Linked DNA regions of Homo sapiens: region 1 is linked to region 2. Evidence: promoter capture Hi-C in human tissues and cell types (Jung and others, 2019). All regions are on one chromosome and are shown on one strand. Each heading gives the region's core, a stretch centred on a gene start or on the middle of the fragment in contact. The rest is flanking DNA. Distances are from core to core; before and after follow the strand shown. Region 1 overlaps RIC1 (RIC1 partner of RAB6A GEF complex). Region 2 holds the start of INSL6 (insulin like 6).

What was found. The method cuts DNA at HindIII sites, captures the fragments that hold promoters and counts their contacts. A contact is called where the count stands out against the background at its distance.
Region 1: a fragment that was not itself captured here is called in contact with the fragment with the promoter of INSL6 in region 2 in 1 of the 25 tissues and cell types used here (mesenchymal stem cells).

What each region holds. Positions count from the first base shown.
Region 1 is chr9:5,726,656-5,732,427 of GRCh38, reverse strand. RIC1 (RIC1 partner of RAB6A GEF complex) reads right to left here. Exons shown (of 26, transcript NM_020829.4): 7 at 1-40. Among named protein-coding and RNA genes, the nearest start is that of INCR1, 100 kb to the right of the region's middle. The HindIII fragment of the contact is 3,199 bases long and covers 1-2,849 here.
Region 2 is chr9:5,183,685-5,189,330 of GRCh38, reverse strand. It overlaps INSL6 (insulin like 6), which reads left to right and starts at 3,692. Exons shown (of 2, transcript NM_007179.3): 1 at 3,692-4,017. The coding sequence starts at 3,729. The HindIII fragment of the contact is 6,352 bases long and covers 2,867-5,646 here.

The DNA of each region.
Region 1 (5,772 bases), core at 1-2,500, 550 kb before region 2:
TTCCGTCAACAACATCTTGTGGCCAAACTCCATGAAGCTGCTATAATAAAGAAAAATAGTTAAGGCTTAAAAAGTGTTTCTCCAAATTTACCGTAGTCAATATAATTCTCCTTCAATAAACATACAATTTCATAATGCTTTATTTGGTTTCATCTGCAGAGGAAAATATCCCACCAGGACTACCACAATAGTCTCCCTTAAAATACTACCAAATAGTCTCCCTTAAAACCTCAAACTTCTCATGAATTGGTCTGATAAATACTCAGCTCAGTCCAGTGCTAGTTAATTTATTTAAAAAACACTAAAATATGGAAATTCATCTCCAAATTCAAATAAAGATGACTTTCTTGTTAGAATGTAAACATTTTGACAGCGGAAACAGCATCTAACTTGCTCACTGTAATTATTCTCATCACCTAGCACATAGTATTTAACTTCTCAGTCAGTGAAAAGTAGTACATTCTGTTTGGTTTATTCTTTAGAAGCAAAATTGCTTACTATTCTCTACAATTCCCTTCTTTATAGTGTAATGGTTAATAGCATGGTATCTGGAAGCCTGACAGCTCAGGACTGCTTTCACTCCTCAAAATAAGTATTTGATCTTTTTTAAGCTTCAGTTTTCTTATCGTATTTACCTCTCAGGGTGTTTCAAAGATTAAATGAAGATACACATGTAAACTATTTAGGACAATGCCTACCATTCAACAAGCATTCAATAAATAAATGACATTATTAGTAAGCATATATGCTATTTCCATATGCCATCTCCATATATAGAGAATAGATTCAGCTCAGTTGTTTGCTCCTATCTGTCAAATCACAGACATTTTAGATGATAAATTCCAAGGCAAAGGTCATAATCATTAGTTCAGTTAGCAGAAAAAGTGGCACACTATAATATAGCACTTTATTTTTGGATGATCCTAATAGTAAACATTAAAGATACAATATAATCACAACTATATGAACTAGAATCCTACAGATTTCATTTAATTCCACAATCAGCTATATAATCTACTATCTAAACACGGAATCTTTGCTTTAGTAGGAATTGTATCTTTTAATTTTAATAATAAAACTGGACATTTTATGTCACAAATGGTAAAGACAGCAGTGAGCATTATTTCTCTGAACTGCTGCTTAGACTGAAATTCAGTCCTACAATAAGTATTTTCTAGGTGGTTACCATTCACCAGGCACTGCTCTAGGTGCTGAGGCTATACTAGCACACCAAAATCTCTACTTGTATGCTTGCTTTACATTTGAGTCAAGAGACAGACAAGTTAAAAAAGTATATTGAATACTGGAGGTTAAAAAATACTATACAAAAAAAATTAAGCAATGCTGGTGAAGAGGGAGTACAGGGGAAGGATGTAATATTAAACAGGTTTCCCTATAAGGATGCCTTTTGAGGAAAGTCCTCAAAGAAATAAAACAAGTGTAAAAGCCCTAATGTAGGAGCATTTCTGGCATGCTCAAAGACCAGCAAAGAAGCCTGTGTGGATAGAGTGAAGTGGATGGGTTGTGAAAGGAAAGTAGTATATGTGGTAAGAGATGTAACAGGAGGTCAGATAATTAGGGCTTTGAAGGCCACCATAAGAATTTTGGCTTTTTCTTCAAGTTATATAGAAGAAGAATATTCAAATTTTTTAAACTTTTCTGTCATGAATTATAATAAAGAATACATGAAAATGAAATGTACATCTCAATATCACAAAGCAAACACTTGTGGAATTGCTACTCAGGCCAAGAATCATGAGTACCCAAAAGTCTCCCAATAGTGCCCTTCCCAATCACTGTATCCTCACACCCCTACAACAAAAAATATCCAGATTTACATGGTAATCACCTCCTTCTTTCTTTTAAATCATTACCACTTAAACATGCACCCATATATACTCTAATTTAGAAATGCCTACATTATTTGCCCTTTAATTTTTACCTAAAATGGAATCATAGCATGTATTCCTTTGTGTCTAGCTGTTTTTTGCTTACCATGTCTGTAAGATCTATCTGTGTTGTTGCATATAGCCTAATTTGTTCATGTTCATTGTAGGCTTAAATATTGGGCTTAGCTCACTGGATTGCTGGCCTCCCTTAGTCTGGCAACTCTTTACTGTCTTGTTTGCTCTCTAAGGGCTTCAAGCATATTAAAAAATATATTTTTTCTCCAGCTCTTTTAGTCCTCAGGAGGTTCTGTCCTAATAATCTAGTCCTACTGAATGAGTCTCCACAGAGGACTGACATAATCACATTTTAACACATCTGTTAAATGTCATTTAGTTATTTCCCTATTACCATTAATACATAGGTACTGTTTTCTTGTAATTTGTATTTTCTATCTATACCTTATTTAGTAATGCCCATCTGCTTTTCATTAGTTTTTAAATCCTTAACTTATTAGAAAAAATTATTTAATTACATACTAATAAACACTGAGAATATATTTTGTACTAACTCTAAAGTACTTGGAAAAGAGTCAATCACTTTTTCAGCTCTAATATTTTTATTTCCAGTCTAAACATTTAAGTCCCAAAGATAATTACAAATATATATGCACCTTATAGGAAAAAAAAAAGAGTTTTTTCTAATTCATCAAAAGTTTATTTTTATTCTTATTTATGTTCTGACACAGGTGATCACAAATACATTATTTAGTACCTTACTATCTGAATAAAGTTGATAACGGAAGATAGTAGATAGGAATATTAAAGTTGATACCAAACAGAATGACAACAATTAAAAAAGGCCATTAAAAACTTAAATTCCTTTCCAGTTAAAGAGAGATGACTGAATATAAATATTTAGCTTCTTGGACTCCTAAAACTGTAACTTCTAGAAGAGAAAAGAGTTTTTGTTTAAAAAAACATAAAGCAGCAAAGACAAAAATAATAGGAGGCGGCATTAGAAAATTTTAGAAGCTGGAAAGCATATCAATGAGTAGAATCCTTAACTGACAGGGAAGAATGCTGAGAAACGTCTAAATTTAAGTTGTAGGGTACACGAAAGGCTTGGGAATTCAGGGGTCTTTGAAAGGCTAAATTAAATGTAGTAGAAGTGGTTCAAAACCTACTTAAAGAAGCAACCAGGTCCTCCCAGAGCACTTCCCCAAAGCTGAGCAGCCAATAAATACCCTACCTCCACTCCTACGGAAAACTGGATATTTTTCTTTGGAGAAAAACAAAACAAAACACCCCCACCCCTACCACCTCCACCAGAGGCCTATGGACCACACTGAAAACAGGGATAGAAAATAAAGGTTCACATCTTGAATTTGGACCCGCTAGCTTAACTCTTCTGTAACTCAAATCCCAGAATACTGGGGTAGCCAAGTATATATCCTCTAGAAAGGACTGCAGGACTCTTTTCCAAGGAACACTGGAGACAGAGAGGGGAGAGGGGAGCAGAAGGGAGGGACAGAGGGAAGGGTATGGCTCTAAAGGTAGGAGGACCCCCAAGTAAATAACTCAGTCAGCTCATCCTATGGTAAAGGACATAGTAAACCAAACGAACCAAAATTCACAGTTTTCAATAAATTATTTTAATTTTAGGTCTCTGTCACAGCAGCCAAATCCATATATTAATTAGCTATTAGCTATTAAAAGATCCGACACAAATAAGAGTAAAGGGAATCTCAGGATAATTATGACAGAAGGCCAAAAAACAGCTGTGTTAAAGATTATAGTAAGCAAGCAGTCTAATTTGGAGCAGGCCAGAAGGCTCCCAGAGAAATTTCTTTAAGAAGATGAAATGGGAGGTTCCAAGATGGCCAAATAGGAACAGCTCCAGTGTACAGCTCCCAGCATGAGTGATGCAGAGGATGGGTGATTTCTGCATTTCCAACTGAAGTACCAGGTTCATCTCACTAGGGCTTGTCAGACAGTGGGTGCAGCCCATGGAGTGTGAGCCCAAGGAGGACAGGGCATCACCTCACCCGGGAAGTGCAAGGGGTCGGGGAATTCCTTTTCATAGCCAAAGGAAGCCATGACAGATGGTACATGGAAAATCGGGACACTCCCACCCTAATACTGCGCTTTTCCAATGGTCTTAGCAAACAGCACACCAGGAGATTATATCCTGCGCCTGGCTTGGAGGGTCCCATGCCCATGGAGCCTTGCTCACTGCTAGCACAGCAACTCAGATTGAACTGCAAGATGGCAGCGAAGCTGGGGGAGGGGTGTCTACCATTGCTAAGGCTTGAATAGGTAAACAAAGTGGCAGGGAAGCTCCAAGTGGGTGGAGCCCACCGCAGCTCAAGGAGGCCTGCCTGCCTCTGTAGACTCCACCTCTGGGGGCAGGGTATAGCTGAACAAAAGGCAGCAGACAGTTCTGCAGACGTAAATGTCCCTGTCTAACAGCTTTGAAGAGAGTAGTGGTTTGCCCAGCACGGAGTCTGAGGTCTGAGAACAGACAGACTGCCTCCTCAAGTGGGTCCCTGACCCATAAGTAGCCTAACTGGGAGACACCTCCCATTAGGGGCCAACTGACACCTCAATCCAGCTGGGTGCCCCTCTAAGATGAACCTTCCAGAAGAAGGATCAGGCAGCAACATTTGCCGTTCTGCAATATGTGCTGTTCTGCAGCCTCCGCTAGTGATACCCAGGCAAACAGGGTCTGGAGTGGACCTCCAGCAAACTCCAACAGACCTACAGCTGAGGGTCCTGACTGTTAGAAGGAAAACTAACAAACAGAAAGGACATCCACACCAAAACCCCATATGTATGTCAGCATCATCAAAGACTAAAGGCAGATAAAACCAAAGATGGGGAGAAACCAGAGCAGAAAAGCTAAAATTCTAAAAATCAGAGCACCTCTTCACCTCCAAAGGAACGCAGCTCCTTGCCAGCAATGGAACAAAGCTCGATGGAGAATGACTTTGATGAGTTGAGAGAAGAAGGCTTCAGACGATCAGTAATAACAAACTTCTCCAAGCTAAAGAAGGATGCTCGAACCCATTGCAAAGAAGCAAAAAATCTTGAAAAAAGATTAGACAAATGGCTAACTAGAATAAACAGCGTAGCAAGGACCTAAAATGACGTGATGGAGCTGAAAACCATCGCACGAGAACTATGTGATGCCTGCACAAGCTTCAGTAGCCGATTTGATCGAATGATTGAAGATCAAATGAATGAAATGAAGTGAGAAGAGAAGTTTAGAGAAAAAAAGAGTAAAAAGAAATGAACAAAGCCTCCCAGAAAAATGGGACTGTGTGAAAAGATGAAATCTACGTCTGACTGCTGTACCTGAAAGTGACGGGGAGAATGGAACCAAGTTGGAAAACACTCTGCAGGATGTTATCCAGGAGAACTTCCCCAACCTAGCAAGGCAGACCAACATTCAAATTCAGGAAATACAGGGAACGCCACAAAGATACTCCTCGAGAAGAGCAACTCCAAGACACATAATTGTCAGACTCACCAAAGTTGAAATGAAGGAAAAAATGTTAAGGGCAGCCAGAGAGAAAGGTCGGGTTACCCACAAAGGGAAGCCTATCAGACTAACAGCAGATCTCTAAGCAGAAACTCTACAAGCCAGAAGATAGTGGGGGCCAATATTCAACATTCTTATAGAAAAGAATTTTCAACCCAGAATTTCATATCCAGCCAAACTAAGCTTCGTAAGTGAAGGAGAAATAAAATCCTTTACAGACAAGCAAATGCTGAGAGATTTTGTCACCACCAAGCCTGCCTTACAAGAGCTCCTGAAGGAAGCACTAAATATGGAAAGGAACAACTGGTACCAGCCACTGCAAAAACATGCCAAATTGTAAAG
Region 2 (5,646 bases), core at 2,443-4,942:
TAATAAGTAGGTACACCTTAAGTAGGTAGAAAAAGAACAAGCCAGAAGAAGGAAGAATAAAAAATGAAGATTACAATGGAGCTAAATAAAACAGAAGATAGGCAAATTCCTTGAACCCAGGAGCAGCCAAGATGGCGGAACAGAAACAGCTTCACTCTGCAGCTCTTACCTAGGAGGATGAAAATGGAGAGTGAATTCTGCATTGTCAATTGAGGTACCAAGATTCTCTCACTGGGACTGGCTAGGTAGTTGGTGCGACCCACGGAGAGTGAGAAAAAGCAAGGTAGAGAGAGGGCCCACCTGGGAGCTGCATGGGGCAAAGGGAACTCCCTCCCCCAGCCATCTGGGGCAGTGATGGATTGTGCTACCCTACCCTGAAAACCACACTTTTGCCATGGATCAATGCAACCTGCAGATCAGGAGGTCCCCTTGTGAGTCCATGCCACGAGGGACTTGGATCACAAGCACAAAGCTGTACAGACTCATGATGGTGGCTGGGGTGGGTGGCCACTAGAGCAGGCACTGAGACACAGGAATATTTGCATACTTCAGCTTTGGAAACTCCCGCGATGCAGGAGATCCACCCACTCCCATGGGAAGGGAGCTGAAGCCAGGGATCCACGAGGTCTTGCTCCCACGGAACCCCACAAGCTAAAACCTACTGGCTTAGAATCCTCTCTGGCCAGCACGGCAGGCTACAGACTGCCTAAAAAGACTGAGTTCGTGGGAGTGAGGGGGTGCTGCCATCACTATGGCTGCAGTCCACAGTTTTCCCATGCCACTGGTGCCAACGAGACTCAGCAGTCTGAATTGGGAGCAATTCCCCAGAGTGCAGCACAGCTGCTGGGTCAGTTTGTAGCCAGACTGCTTCTTTAAGCAGGATCCTGATCCACTCCTCCTCACCAGGCAGGGGCCCCCGCTATGGGAATCTCAGCATCCCCAGCCAGGGGTTCATGGACAGAACTCTGATATCCCTGAGAGGAGCCCCTGGGAGGAGAAGTGGCTGTGGTATTGTGGATCAGCCATCTTAGTCTTTTCTGCCTGCTGGCTCTGAAGAGTAAGGGCAGCCCAGACAAGGGGGATTCCCACCAGTGCAGCACATCCACCCTGCCAAGGGGCAGCTAGATTGCTTATTTAAGTGGGTCCCTAATCCTGGTCATCTTTTGAAAGAACCAACTTTAGTTTTGTTAAACTTTTCTATTGTTTTGCTAGCCTCTATTTTTAAAATTTTTTTGTTGGACTTTCGTTATTTTCTTCTTTCTGCTAAGCTTGGGCTTACTTTGTTCTTCTAGTTCCTTGAAATACAATGTTAAGTTGTTTATTTGAGATCTTTTTTGACATAGGTGCTTATTACTATAAACTTCTCTCTCAGCACTGTGTTTGCTGCATACCATAAATTTTGGTATGTTGTGTTTCCATTTTGGAGTTTTTGAGATGGAGTCTCACTCTGTCACACAGGCTGGAGTGCAGTGATGCCCTCTCAGCTCACTGCAACCTCCGCTTCCCAGGTTCAAGCCATTCTCCTGCCTCAGCCTCCTGAGCAGCAGGGATTACAGGTGCCTGCCACCACACCTGACTAATTTTTCGTATTTTTAGTAGAGACAGGGTTTCACCATGTTGGCCAGGCTGGTCTTGAGCTCTTGGCCTCAAGTGATCCACTCACCTCAGCCTCCCAAAGTGCTGGGATTACAGGCATGAGCCACTGAGCCCAGCCTGTCTCAAGATATTTTTTAAACTCCCTTTATATTTCTTCTTTGACCCACTGGTAGTTAGGAACATGTTCTTTAATTTCCACATATTTGTGAGTTTTCAAAAGTTCCTCCTTTTATTGATTTCTACTTTCATTCCATTGTGGCCAGAAAAGATATTTGATATTATTTTATTCTTCTAAATTTATTAGGACTTGCTTTGTAGCATAACATATGATCTATTCTGGTGAATGTTCTCTGTGCATTTTAGAAGAATGCGTATTCTGTTGCTGTTGGATGGAATGTCCCATAAATATCTGTTAGCTCCACTTGTTCCAAAGTATAGTTCAAGTCTTTTGATGAGTCTCTTGTGGGCAGTATATAGTTGAGTCTTTTTTTTTTTATCCATTCAGCCCTGTTTTTTGATCAAAGAACATAATCCATTTACATTCAAAGTAGTTATTGATGGGTTAGAATTTACTACTGCATTTTGTTAATTGTTTAGTGGTTATTTTGTAGATCCTTTGTTCTTTTCTTTTTCTCTTGTTCTCTTTGTGATTAGATGATATCCTGTAGTGGTATGCTTGATTTCTTCTTTTTTATCTTTTATATATCTACTATAGGTTTTGCCTTGTGGTTACCACAAGGCTTACATTCATCTCAGTATGATTAATATTTTCCGTTCTCAAAAACCTTACCTGATAAAGTTCTGACTAGGACTCATGGCCCACTATAGTTTGGACATAAGTTATTTTTTAAGGAAGGTGATTAAATTTTACTAATCTATATTATATCAACCATTTAAAAAATCCAATTGGCAGTTAATTTAACAGCATTCATGGATGCCACTGGGAAGCAGGGAAAAGATAGGGAAACGGAAAATTAAGAAAAAGACATAGAGTCAGAAGACAGAAAAGAAAGGGAGAAAAAAATAAAATTGTATAGGGAAATGGTGAGATCACTGATAAGCTTGCACCTGTGGCTTCAGCATCCTGAACCTTATTCCTGAGACAGCCACCGAATGCCCTCTTGTGGCCGATAGTACATCCTTCCACGCCAACACACTAGTAACACAGAACTTCATTTAAAATGATAAAGCTACCTATGCCGATTGCGCTTCGCTTCCCTGCCCCTTCCCTCCTAACTGAGCAAAATTATCTCACCTAAATGAGCATTTCATGCTGCATGCTGTTATTCTTACAAGGCAAATCCTCTAGGGGTCCCTGTCACAAGTTAATTTGGTAATACACAATCCTCTACATTATCTAACCGAAAGAACCAGATTTCCATCCCAGGTACCTCAAGACAGCGTCCCTACTTCTTTTTTCTGGAGATTGAGGCTAAGGCCCATGCCTCCCTGTGAACCAGTAGGATTTTTCTGAAGAAGCTTTGAACCTGACTAAACGCACATGGCCATATGCAACACTTAAACGTTTCACCACATATTTGATTGCCAGCTAAATGCCAGATCCCGGGGTACGATGGAAAGCAAGAACAGACGCAGGCCCTTGCCTTCATGAAGCGGGGGTCTCAGGAAAGAGGTTACACGCCCACAAATGGAAACAGGTCGATTAACACCGTGAAAGAGATGACAGGGGGTTTCTGTGAGGGAGACGAAGCTTTATTAACAACCTGGCAAACAAGAACGAGAAACGCATTCCAGGTGGAGGGAGCAACACTTTTTAACCTACGTTATCAGGTAACAGGGATCCTATGTTCTCACGCTTGGTGAGGAATCTCCCATTGAGGAAGGAAAGAAAAATGAATCAAACTAGGGGGTGGCGGGGTAGTGAGGGGATTTTTGGCTTTCATTTTAGGAGCCAGGGCCTGCTACCTTCGACCACCTGAGACCCCTGAGCTGGCGGGAAAGCCTTGACGCAGCCGGCGCGCGCCTTCCCTTGAAGTTCTGGCGACGCCCCCACGCGCTCGGAATTCCGCAGTGTTTGTGCGCGCCGCTCGGCCTGGCGCAGGCGCAGACAGGGAGCAGGGTCCGGCCGACCGCCATTGCACAACGCGGAGGACTAGCCTGGGGTCACAGGGATGCCGCGGCTCCTCCGCTTGTCCCTGCTGTGGCTTGGACTCCTGCTGGTTCGGTTTTCTCGTGAACTGAGCGACATCAGCAGTGCCAGGAAGCTGTGCGGCAGGTACTTGGTGAAAGAAATAGAAAAACTCTGCGGCCATGCCAACTGGAGCCAGTTCCGTTTCGAGGAGGAAACCCCTTTCTCACGGTTGATTGCACAGGCCTCGGAGAAGGTCGAAGCCTACAGCCCATACCAGTTCGAAAGCCCGCAAACCGCTTCCCCGGCCCGGGGAAGAGGCACAAACCCAGGTAAAAATCGAAACCGAAGGCATGTTTGTTCACCTCTGTATATTTCTTATTCCTGCATTTGCTCTGCCAGAAGGTGAGCTTCCCCAGGAAGTGGAATTTGTGCCTAGTACACAGCTCTTTAAAAAATTGTAAAAAACAGTGTATTGAAAATATACAAAACTTCAATGAAGCGCTTTTTTTTTTAACTTGGAGGAAATAAATGTACACTTGTAAGTCTACATATTTATGTAAGAATGTTGTTCTTTTCTGGAGTGCCAGTCATCTGGCAAACTCCTTTTTGTCCTTCAAAGCCCAACTTAAGTATCATTTTCCCTGTGAAGTCATCATTGACCTTTTCATGGCCAATGGCTCCATTGTCCTTTCTACCACAGTATCTAGCACATAGTTGTATTTGACTGTCGTCATTGGCTACAGAATCAGCCCAACCTTGTAGAAGATAAAAATGCAGAGTACCTTGTTCAAAAAAGCAGGAAAGGGCCATGAAAATAAAGGTAGTAAAATATAAAACTGTTTTCCTTACTTGTCCATATCCCCTGGTCACGTACCAGGAGATAGGCCTGGTCCGTTCTCCTATCAGGCTTCATTTAAGAGTTTACGTACTTGTATTTCATTCACTTAAAGTTTCAAAGGTAAATTTATTCAGAACAACAAAGGAACATTTAAACCAAATGCAAGGCCTGTGTGACTACATAGGTTTCAGTCCCATAAAGTCAGCCCTATATACCATACTGTATTATAGGGACTATTTCATGCATATTTTTGTCTGAAATGCTTAGCAGATGGCCTAGCACATCGCATGTGTTTAATATGCGCTGAATTTATACTTGATGCTTTCAAGCAGTCTGCAGGAAGGATATTCTTGTTCCAGATTCATTGGTATATCTTACTATGTTTTTACATTTTGTGACTAAGACATTTTAGTCCCAGTATGATTTGTCATTTTAAAAGAAATTGCACTTTGTTTATAGTGTATCCATAGGAAGAAGATTACTGCCTTTTACAGTAATTCAGTTGATTTGATTTGGACAAATCTTGTAAAAGTGAAGATTTCTGAAATTAAGGAAATGAGTAAACTATCATGCCAAAAAGAGACCCTAATGTAGAGGACTGAAAAAAGTCAAACAATGCACATTGTAGGCACTCATTAGCTTTTTTGGAATGAATGAATAGAATTTATAAAGTCACTGTTGCTGAAAGAATAAAAACTTTTAAAGACAGAAACCATGAGACTGATTCATGATCATTTTCAAACCGACCCATCAAACTAACCCACATACAAACCTCACCTTGTCCTTCTGTTATAATGAAGGAAGTGTCTCTCCCCAGTCTTCTACTTTTACTTTAGTTCAGTGACTCTCACGCTTTAATGTGCATATGAATCATTTGGGAATCCTGTTAATTTACCGACTCTGAGTTAGTAGACCTGGGGTGGGGCCTGATATTTTTCGTTTTTAACTAGCTCCCAGGTGCTGCTAGTTCGTGGCCCACACTTTTGAGTAACAAGGTCCAGTTTACTGTCTGTCTCTCTCTTTTTTTTTTCTTTTAAACTCCTCTTTCTTGTTCTTTTCTCCCAGGAGTGCAAGGAGAGCCTTCCCTTTCTGCTTTATGTTGGGTGGGCATTTCTCTCAC